Linked DNA regions of Homo sapiens: all the other regions are linked to region 2. The links are contacts of gene promoters, found by promoter capture Hi-C in blood cells and fetal thymus (Javierre and others, 2016). All regions are on one chromosome and are shown on one strand. Each heading gives the region's core, a stretch centred on a gene start or on the middle of the fragment in contact. The rest is flanking DNA. Distances are from core to core; before and after follow the strand shown.

Region 1 (3,473 bases), core at 255-2,754, 210 kb after region 2:
AAATGAGTCATCTGATATTAACAGCTGATAGATACTTAGTTCTTATTTTTTAAGACTTGGTCACAAATTTTACAACAGGATATATTAATGTTGGATAGATATGTAGTCCCTTTTTTGGATTTTGTCACAAATTTCAGAAATGGATTTTAGTTTTAAGTAACTAATAATGACTTCAATAGAGATTTATTTTTAACATAGGTGGTAGATGTTTGCTGTACATTCAGTTATTGAGTAGTGTCAAGGCTGACATGTCTGTAATTTTCTTGACATTTCCCTTGTGGTTCCCAAGTGGTTACTATTATCTGCATTTGAGGCAGGTAAAACGGGGAAAGGGTCAGCACTGGCCTCAACTAGACCTGATACCAGGAAAGCAAAAGTGTCACAGATTTTGTCTTAAGTCTTAATCATTCCTAATAGCAAGAGCTACTGGAAAACAGAGAAACAGGATTGTCACAATTGTCTTAATCTATATCCATTGCCTAGGGCTGGGTGTGTTGTTCCCCCAAACAAAATCAGAGTTTGGTTAGCTGGGAAAAGGGGGAAAATAGGTATCAATTGGACAATTAAAAGGATCTGGGAGAGATTTAATTTTTTCCATCAATTAGAATGTTTTCCTCTACAAATAATTAAAAAAAAATTAAAAGAGCTTAAACATGACATTTTGGGCTAGGTGATTTTTATTTTTTTAAAAAAAAGTTTGAACAATAAAGAGCATGTAGTAACACACAGGAAGTCTGTATATAAGGGGACTGTAGTTGGTTATGTGGCTCATCAAGACCCAAGTTCTTTGTCTTTTCAACTGTGACATCTCTAAATGTCAGGTTAGCCACAGTGTCACAGTGTGGCTGCTGAGAGACTAGACATCACATGCAGATGAGGTAAGCTTGAGTTGACAATGCTCAGTTAAAGAAGAGGGAAATCTGTTTGTGTCTCTTTTTAATTGATAAATCTTTCCCCATTCACTCACTTCCTCTCCCCAACAGACTTCCTTCTAATCTTAGTGGCCAAAATTCATTATATGCTCTTGTGTTAAATCACTGGCAAGGGGAATGGAACTAAAATTGTTGGATTAGACCAACGATTATCTCTGCTGAGAGTAGAGGGCTGCGCTTCCCTGAATCACGTGGAGGAGGGGCAGACCCTTAATGTGTGTGTACATGTGCACATGCCTGTTGCCAGCAAGGGAAGGAGGAGAAGAATAAGAGTATCTGTTGCTGGGTACCACATTTGTTGACCTGACATCATACATATGCTAAAATGCTCATGTTGCTATGAAATTTTCAGTTCCTTTTCAAAGGGTTCTATACCCCAGAGTTGCATCCATTTAGTACATGCAGCTACTAATCCAGGACTTCTGGCTGGTGGGAAGCCCTCTCCTTCGGGTCCAGGTGCCTCTTCATGGTCCAGCAGTGTGTGGCTAAAAGCAATTATCAGTGCACAGTATATCCAGTATCCAGTGATAAAGATGAAGTGGGATAAGTACTATATAAAACTTCCATTCAGAGGAAGAAAAATTGGAAACAACCTCAGTATTCACTGCTCCATAGCATGTAGATTAATGATGCTTAACCTGTTTGTCAGCCTCCAGTTTTATTTTCTGGGAGGATTTGCCTTGTCTCTGGTGTTCCTTGGCTAGTGTTTCTGTCTTCATGGTCACATCTGAGCTGGAATTAGTGGAGGATGATCTTTGTGGAGACTGAACAGCTTTAGCGGCCTGCTTTCTGTTAGTATGGAGGTCTGATTACTGGAAATTGTCCTATGGATTGAAAACTCACAGCCTGACTGAGTCAGCCTGGGATATCTTTGGAAGTACAGTTCCTGTAAAGTTGTAGTGGTCCTACATTCTGTTTGCTCTGATCTCTTTGGTTTCACTCCATTAAACACAGTTAAATATCTTGTCTTGATGTGTGTTCTGAGAATTTCTGACCTAGCCACTGGCCTCTGCTTTGCCTGTTCTCCTGGCCTTTGGTTTAGTGACCTCCGCTCTGAGGCACTCTGCTCCTTTCCCATGCTAGAAAATGACCTGCTTTATTTGGTATTGTAGCACTTACCTATGAATAAATATTAAAATAGTACCAAATGTCAGTATTTATTCATCTTTATTGTCTTTCTCCGTCGAAGACTGTAAGCTTTAATAGATATGGGACTGTGTTTTGTTTACTCTTCTAGTCACCCAGGGCTTAAAACAGTGGCTACCACCGTGTACTCACTCAGTACATTTTGGTTTAATGGATGAATACAGTTAAAGTGAAAAAAGCAAGTTGCAAAGCTGCTTTCTTAGCCATATATTTTTACACTGACCAACCCAGTAACAACAAGCACCTGTAACAACCCAGTTGTAGTATCTGATTGTCTTTTTTCACTAAGGATCTAGAACTCCTTGGAGAAATCACTGAGTTCAAGTTCGGCAGGGAAAGAGCAAGGTGATCTTGGTATTTTGGCCAGAAAGCAAGGAAAAGTTCAAAGGATTCAGTGACCAGTTTGAATTGAATACTAATTGTAGTGGATTCAAACAAATCAAATATGTTTAAATCCACGTGTTTGTAATAACACTTAAGAAAAAAACTAGTTAGGGCTGAGGGCTGTGACTTACACCTGTACATGCCAACACTTGGGAGGCCAAGGCAGGAGGATCACTTGAGCCTCAAGAGTTTGAGAACATCCACGGCTAAACTGAGAGTCCCTTTAAAAAAAAAATAGTTTGAGACCAGCCTGGGCAACATAGAGCTGGTCTCTACAAAAAAAAAATTTTAATTAGCTGAGTGTGGTGATGTGTGCCTGTATTCCTGGCTGAGGTGGGCGGGAGAATCACTTGAGCCCGGGAGCTTGAGGCTGCAGTGAACCAATGATGACGCCACTGCACTCTAGTCTGGGCAGCAGAGCAAGACTCTGTCTCAAAAAAAGAAAACAAAACTAGTTGGTTACTGTTAAAAGATGCTAATGAAGTCATTAATTTTGAAAACTGGTAAATAGAGGGAGAAATCAAACATTAATCTTGCCTTTCTAACATGAACTGTGCCACCTGTATCCAATTAGTAGGTGAGGGAAAGCATCTCATAGATGTATTCCAAGTCATAAAAAAGAGAAATGATAGGATTAGATACATTATTTTATACTATGCCGATTGAATTAGTGAATCTAGACCTTAAAAACAGAGATAAGCAGGCATTTGGTTCCCTCCTGCCCACAACATACAGAGCAGCTGCATTTCAGCGCTCAATAGACACATGTGACTTGTGGCTACCATATTGGACAGCACAGCTCTCGAGCTAATTACCATTTACAAAATCCATAGAGAACAAGAGGACATGTTAAATGATGCCAGGAGGATGTGATCAGAAATTCCAGACTGTGGTAAATACTATACTAGTAAATACCGGACAAGTTACCCAATGTCTACAAGTAAATCTCAAGGACAGGAAGAGGCAGAAGAAACTGGTAGATTAAGAGACTTGGAGACAACCAGCTTATTT
Region 2 (3,355 bases), core at 79-2,578:
ACCCCGTAATATGGGTGATCCTACCTTGTACCTTGCATGTGCCAGGCCCCAGGAGTGAGGCTAGAAGCTGAGAAATGACTCACACCCAGGCCTCTACTGACTCCTCAGGGTCCAAGCCAGACCCCTCCAAGAGGGCCAGCAAGCAGCCAACCCAGTTGCCTCCCCTGAGCCTCAGTTTCTCCAACCAAGGAGCCAGGGTGGGCCTTGATCTATCTCCAGACCACATAGGGGCCTGAGGTCTTTCTTGGGGAAGGGGTTGGCCCAAAGACCGCACTGGCAGAAGTCCCAAGGTGCTGAGGCCCCCATCCAGAACACACTGTCTCTGGGGTACAGGCTGAACATGCCACACGTGCTTCCCCCTCCCTGCCCCTCCTGGCCCTGTGTCTAGCAGCTGAGCAAATGGCGTCTCCTCCCTTCTCCCTGCCCCCTGCCATTCCTGCGCAAAGGGCACGGGGCCTGGCGTGTGGCACTGGCAGCTGGAGCTTTCCATGCTGCCGTCAAGTTTTCCAGAGCACAAAGACAGGAGAGCCAGGAATAACTGGCTGGGCCCCCAGAGGGTCTGGAGGGGATGGGCCTGCCTCAGACCTGCTTTCAGACCCTATGCCAAGGGGTGCAGGCAGAGGGCCAGCTGCCCAGGACCAGGGCTTTGGGAGGCTTCTGTGGCTACTGGGAGCCCATTATCTGGCATGCATTCTGTAGGAATCAGCCCAGGCTCCAGTGTGACCTGGGTCCACTCCTTGTGTGACCTTGGAGAAGTCATTTAACCTCCCTGAGCTTTGTCTCCTGCGGGCCCAGGTGGCAGCTTCTCAGGATCCCAGGGAGTGAAGGGCCCATACTGAGGTTGGCTATGCCCAGAGCTGCTGTTATGATGATCGTTTTTATGGCTGGACAACCCTGGGCCAGTCACAGACCAGCTGGAGGCTCAGCTCAAGCCAAGGCACCTCCAGGGCCCCATACTGGATAAAGCACAACCCCAGAATCCTGGCCAGGGACCACACGGCAGCAAAGCCCCTACCCAAGGGAGCTCAGCCCCTGGTCTTCTGAGCAAGAGGATGGGTACCACTGGGCAGGAAGAGCGAGTGTCTACGCTCTCCAGAGGACACAGGAGCAAGGAGACCAGAGCATTCTCACCAACCAGGCCAGTTCCCCTTCCTCCCCCCTGGGGGGTGCTGGGTGCCGGACACCCCTCCCCAGGGGCTATATTAGCCGTGTGAGTCATGGTGGACCGGCTGGGAGGCGGCAGGCTGGCAGGCACAGTGTAGGGTTACAGTCCATTTATGGGCGCAGCCGAAGGCAGATATCAGTGTCGATGGCATTCGCTCCCAGCTATTCTTAGGAGCCTCTCAAGAGCTCCACGCAGCCCGGCTGGGCAGCAAGGGACAGAACAGGCAAGGCTGGGGGTCAGGGGCAGGGGCAGAGGTGTGGACCGGGCAGGCGGAGTGCCTGAGTGCCCTCTCACTCAACCCTCTCTACCCTTTGTCTGCAGAGGCGGCCGCTGACAGCACCAGCATGTCTTACAGTGTGACCCTGACTGGGCCCGGGCCCTGGGGCTTCCGTCTGCAGGGGGGCAAGGACTTCAACATGCCCCTCACTATCTCCCGGGTGAGTGCACCCTGCCACAGCCTGGCACCCGATGGGGCAGGCACGCTTGGAGGAGGGCATGTGTGTCCGTCTGTCTGTCTGTCCTTTCTGAGCCTCTCAGAAAGCAGAGCATGCCCCATCCCCTGGGACTGGCCTGGTCCTCTGGTCTCAGCCACAGCTGTTTGCTCACTGGAGCGCGCCGGCCTGTTATGCATGTGAGACATCATGAGCAGGTGGTAGGTGTTTTTAGCAGAGAAGAAAATGCTGAGTTTTCAGGCAGGCAGGCAGGCAGGCAGGCAGGTAGCTGGACAGAGAGTACAGCACCTTCCTGATCCCTTTACTGTTAGAGTGGGCTCAGGGTGCCCCCAAGCCTTGAGCATTTCCCTAGATATGGGCAGCTGCTTTGGGAAGGGAGTATTCCCAGCATGGAGAGGGCAGGTGATGGGCAGTTGGATAGATGGACAGACAGACGGTTGACCTTGGCTGCCCAGCTGTCAGAGTGTGGGGCTGGGCTGGACTGAGTACTGGGCACCTGCTCCATCCCAAACTTGAGACACCAAGACCCTGGCTCATGGGGCTGGGCGCTTCTCCCCATTCACCATGGCTGCTTTGTCTGTCTCAGGTCTTGTTCCCCACAAGTGCTGGGGCCTGGTGAGATGGCCCCCTATCCTGCAGTGTCTGTGATGGGGAGCAGCATGGCCTGATGCAGATGACACAGAACATCAGGGGTTGTCTGAGTAACTCTACCGCCTGGCTGGAGACAGCAACACCAGAGAGGCAGAAAGTTAGCCATGCTCCTGAGGAAGCACTCCAGGAGCAGGGACTGATGGGGGAACAGCCCCCAGACCGTAGTAGGCACTCCGTCAGTTTCTGTCAAACAAAGAGACTCCCCAGCAAGGCACTGGTAGACCCAGGGCTGAAGGCCCCAAGGCTCAGGGCGAACTGTGAGGCATACAGGGCAAGGACAACCCTGCCTGGTGGCTGAGCCCCTGACCGTGCTGTTCCGGGCACAAGGCCAGAGGGGGAGGCCCCCAGTCTGTCACTGGAGGGTGGTAGGTAGGCAGGGGTATCTGGGCTACTGCCCACCAGGGGAACAAGGGGACAGTTTCTTCTCTGGGGCCTTAAGGACTTGCCTTGGGCCTGGGGGCTGGAGGAAGGGGTTGGAGGGGAAGCACTGAAGTGGGCAAGGCCTGAAGGGGCTTGGCAGAGGGGCCAGGGAACCTGGGCAGCGGGTCAGGAGCCAATGCCCCCAGTGGAGGAGTAATCTTTTTTTTGTTCCACGGGTACTTGAGGGGACCCCAGAAGTAGAAGCCCCACCCAGGGATGCCGTGAGAGCCTTATAATAGCCATAGAGGCCACATGCTTACAGGAGGGGTGCTGGCCTGGCTCTGGTGCAGGGAACAGGCCCTGACCTCCATCCTTCAGTTGCAGATGTGGCTTGTTCTAACCTGGAGATTCCACCCCTCCAGATCTACTGCCCTGGAGACCACAGGGTCCTGGGCACCCACAGCCTTGCACACTTTGCATGAGGTGGTGACCTGTGAGCATGTGAGCCCCAGTGGATTTCCCACTGCCCTTTCCCACAGCTCCCCACCCCCATGCTTGCAGGACTCCTTCCTGTATAAGGTGGAGCCTCTGTGTGCTCTCTCATGGGCCCTGTGGCCTCCCCTGCCTGGGACTGAGCCCACATCTCCCCCAGCTCCACCATCTCGAGGCCTCCTGCTGGTGCTCCCTGCCCTATCCCTATGGGTGCAAATTGGCCACTGGGCTCAGT
Region 3 (3,460 bases), core at 490-2,989, 230 kb after region 2:
AGTTAGTTGTTAAACTTGACAAGCTGTTCAAATCTATATACTATATATGTGAACCTTCGGACAAGGTGCTCTGCTCTCGTTTTCTCATCCATGAAGGAATTACTATGAGGATCAAATGAGATACATGTAAATAGTTTAGCACAATTAGCACATAGTAAGGGCTTAATAGATGTTAGCTTTGACCATATTGATTCTTTAATAGAGCAGTCTTCATGCTGTTACCCATATCCCTGGGTACACTCAGACTGTGTTATACAAGGGTAACGGGCACGTTGATAGTTTTAAGGGAATCAGTTTTTGGATCCTAAACTTCAGTAGGTCCTGTTGCTGAATATTTCTCTGCCTGAGAACAGAACTTCTCAAGCAGTTCTCTTTCCCTTAGTCACTTTTCATAGTCAACCCCTCCTAGTTTACAAATAGAAGGCCTGAGGTGTAAAACTTCAAGGTTCCAAACGGTGTTGTAATTCGAAGTAAAGGCATCAGTGTAGGCTATGTCGGGATATCAAATAAGTGTTTACATGACAGATGGTTTTCAATTGTTTGCTTTCAACCAAGTTGCTGGATCATTGAAAATAATTTTCGATGATAGGATCTTTATGGCACTTTTAGCATATGCTTTGGAAGGACTTTAAACAATTATGGGCTGATCGTGGTGGCACGGTGGCCCCAGCCTGTAATCCCAGCACTTTGGGAGGCCGAGGCGAGCAGATCATCTGAGGTCAGGACTTAGAGACCAGCCTGATCAACATGGCGACACCCCGTCTCTACTGATAATACAAAACTTAGTCAGGCGTGGTGGTGCGTGCCTTTAATCCCAGCTACTTGGGAGGCTGAGACAGGAGAATTGCTTGAACACAGGAGGTGGAGGTTGCAGTGAGCCAAAATCATGCCATTGCACTCCAGCCTAGGCAGCAAGAGTGAAACTCCATCCAAAAAAAAAAAAATTATGGGACAATGGTATAATAGTCTCCTTCCGTGATCATCATCTTGCTTATGTGAATACATTGTCTTGATGATGACAAAAGGAAAAATAAGAATAAGATTAATGATGAATCTTCTCACTCTAGCAGTAATTTTTATTCATGAATTCGTGAACTGATTTGTTTCAAAAGTCCCATCCATATCATTAAGAAATGCCTGGCCAGGTGCAGTGGCTCATGCCTGTAATCCCAGCACTTTTGGAGGCCGAGGCGGGCAGATCGCTTGAGCTCACAAGTTTGAGACCAGCCTGGGCAACACGGCAGAACCCCATCTCTACAAAAATTAGCTGGGCCTGGTGGCTCACGCCTGTAATTCTAGCACTTTGGGAGGCCAAGGCAGGTGGATCACCTGAGGTCAGGAGTTTCAGACTAGCCTGGCCAACATGGTGAAACCCCGTCTCTACTAGAAATACAAAAATTAGCCGGGCGTGGTGGCACACTCCTGTAATCCCAGCTACTTGGGAGGCTGAGGCAGGAGAATCGTTTGAACCCAGGAGTTGGAGGTTGCAGTGAGCCGAGATAGCACCACTGCACTCTAGCCTGGGTAACAGAGCGAGACTCCGTCTCAAAAAAGAAAAGAAAAAAAAAAAAAAAAGCTGAGGTGGGAGGATGACTTGAGCCTGGGAGGCAGAGGTTGTAGTGAGCTGAGATCATGCAACTCCACTCTAGTGTGCGGAGTGATAGCTAGATCTTCTATCATAAAAAAAAAGAAAAAGAAAAAATGCCCTTTCCAATAACATTTTCTTAAGTTTGTATTTAATGAAGATTGTAACATATATATTGTTTTGATCAATTTTATGCTAATAATGATTATGATAAACTAGAATAATTTTCTAAGACTTAAAGACATACAGTTATAGGAAATAAAAGAATTTTTATGTACTTATCTTTGATGTGGACAGTTATATATTACTTTAGGACGTAATTATCATGGGAGATATTGAAAGGAAATAAGAGTTCAAGGAGAAATAAGAGTTCTAGTGTAAAATTTCTCATTGCTAAAAGAAGCATTTGTTCATTTATTCTTTAAAATGATGATAATGGGTATCAAATTGCAATGCTATTTAGATTCTACTGAATGCATTAAAAAATGATGTAACACTTCTATTTCAAAATGAGGTAACAATTCTATGTCAAAGTGTCATTATGTACAGTAAGCCAGAAATTATTAATATATTGCAGCCATTTAAATTTATGGTGAAAATTTTTAAGTGTCACCTGAAAAATACGTGAAGGATACGTTGCTTTTAAGAATTGGGTTACGCCAGCAAGCATTTTGACCAGCACTTATCTAACTTTCTGTATTTCTTGGTAAACGTCACCCAAGCACAGCACTCACCCAAGCACAGCTCTGTCATGCTCATCCTAACCCTTTCCCCAGTGTCTTCACGCACTGCCATGTGTGGCACAGAACAGATGTGAGTGCCTCTCACCAGGCCTCGCGTTCTTCCACTCCCCAGGCTGCATTGGTAAATTGTGCTTATTCTGTTTCCTCCTATAGGACAAATTATTTTTCAGAAACCTCACTGCCATTCCTTGTAACTTGGCGTCAGTTCCTTCCTCATATACTGTCTCCAGCCTGAGCACACTGAATAAGTTTATTTAAGTCAGAATCACTTAATTCATCAGTGCCAAGTAAATTTGTTTCCCACAAAAATTCATATTCCCCACATAAGTCTAGAAATACAAAATTGACTTGGGCAGAGGGTACGGGTGGAGAGTGCAGGAAAAGGAAAGGCTGTGTCACCCAAATTCATAATCTCGACAAACCCAATTTTTGCCTACCCAGATACATAGTTAACCTGAGTAAGACAGACGTGAGATGAGGCAGGTGTTGCTTATTCTTAGTGAAGCCACAATGGGTCTTTAGGGACTTAGAAGTTTTTTGGCTTAGTCTAGAATCTCATCTGGGATTCATGTCAAGCAAGAGGAAGGGAAGTTAATTTATTGAATATTTGTTATATGTGTATAGTATCCTGGGGATTCAGTATATTCTACCTTGTTTCCCCCCAACTACTCTATAGAGCAGATTTTTTTAAAGACAGGGTATTGCTCCATCACCCAGGCTGGAGTGCAGTGGTGCAATCACAGCTCACTGCAGCCTCAACCTCCTGGGTTCAAGTGATCCTCCCACCTCAGCCTCCTGAGTAGCTGGGACCACAGGCGTGTACCACCACACCTGGCTGATTTAAAAATTTTTTTAGAGATGGGGTCTCACTATTTTGCCCAGCCTGATCTCAGACTCCTCCGCTCAAGCCATTCTGCCACTTCAGCTTCCCAAAGTGCTAGGATTACAGGTGTGAGCCACTGTTCCCAGTTCATCTTTTTTTAACCTGTATTTTTTAGCACACTAAAGCCTAGAGATAAATTACTTGCTCAAGTTCACAAAGTGAACAACTGGCAAAGCTAGGATTCAAACTGTTTGATTCCAAAACCCTTGTATTTTCTGTAATACTATGCTCCTTAATCTGTTGGCAGAG

The links. Contacts are between HindIII fragments. The CHiCAGO score rates a contact against its expected background, and 5 or more counts as called.
Region 1: a fragment that was not itself captured here is called in contact with the fragment with the promoter of LDB3 in region 2 in 1 of 17 cell types (M0 macrophages); the score reaches 7.3 in M0 macrophages.
Region 3: a fragment that was not itself captured here is called in contact with the fragment with the promoter of LDB3 in region 2 in 1 of 17 cell types (M2 macrophages); the score reaches 5.0 in M2 macrophages.

What each region holds. Positions count from the first base shown.
Region 1 is chr10:86,878,346-86,881,818 of GRCh38, forward strand. All of the region lies in intron 3 of BMPR1A (bone morphogenetic protein receptor type 1A), which reads left to right. Among named protein-coding and RNA genes, the nearest start is that of MMRN2, 78 kb to the right of the region's middle. The HindIII fragment of the contact is 1,246 bases long and covers 882-2,127 here.
Region 2 is chr10:86,667,183-86,670,537 of GRCh38, forward strand. It overlaps LDB3 (LIM domain binding 3), which reads left to right and starts at 1,329. Exons shown (of 14, transcript NM_007078.3): 1 at 1,329-1,388; 2 at 1,487-1,602. The coding sequence starts at 1,510. RefSeq lists an enhancer at 1,460-1,509. The HindIII fragment of the contact is 20,890 bases long and covers 1-3,355 here.
Region 3 is chr10:86,894,607-86,898,066 of GRCh38, forward strand. The region is part of intron 5 of BMPR1A (bone morphogenetic protein receptor type 1A); the gene reads left to right. Among named protein-coding and RNA genes, the nearest start is that of MMRN2, 61 kb to the right of the region's middle. The HindIII fragment of the contact is 9,730 bases long and covers 1-3,460 here.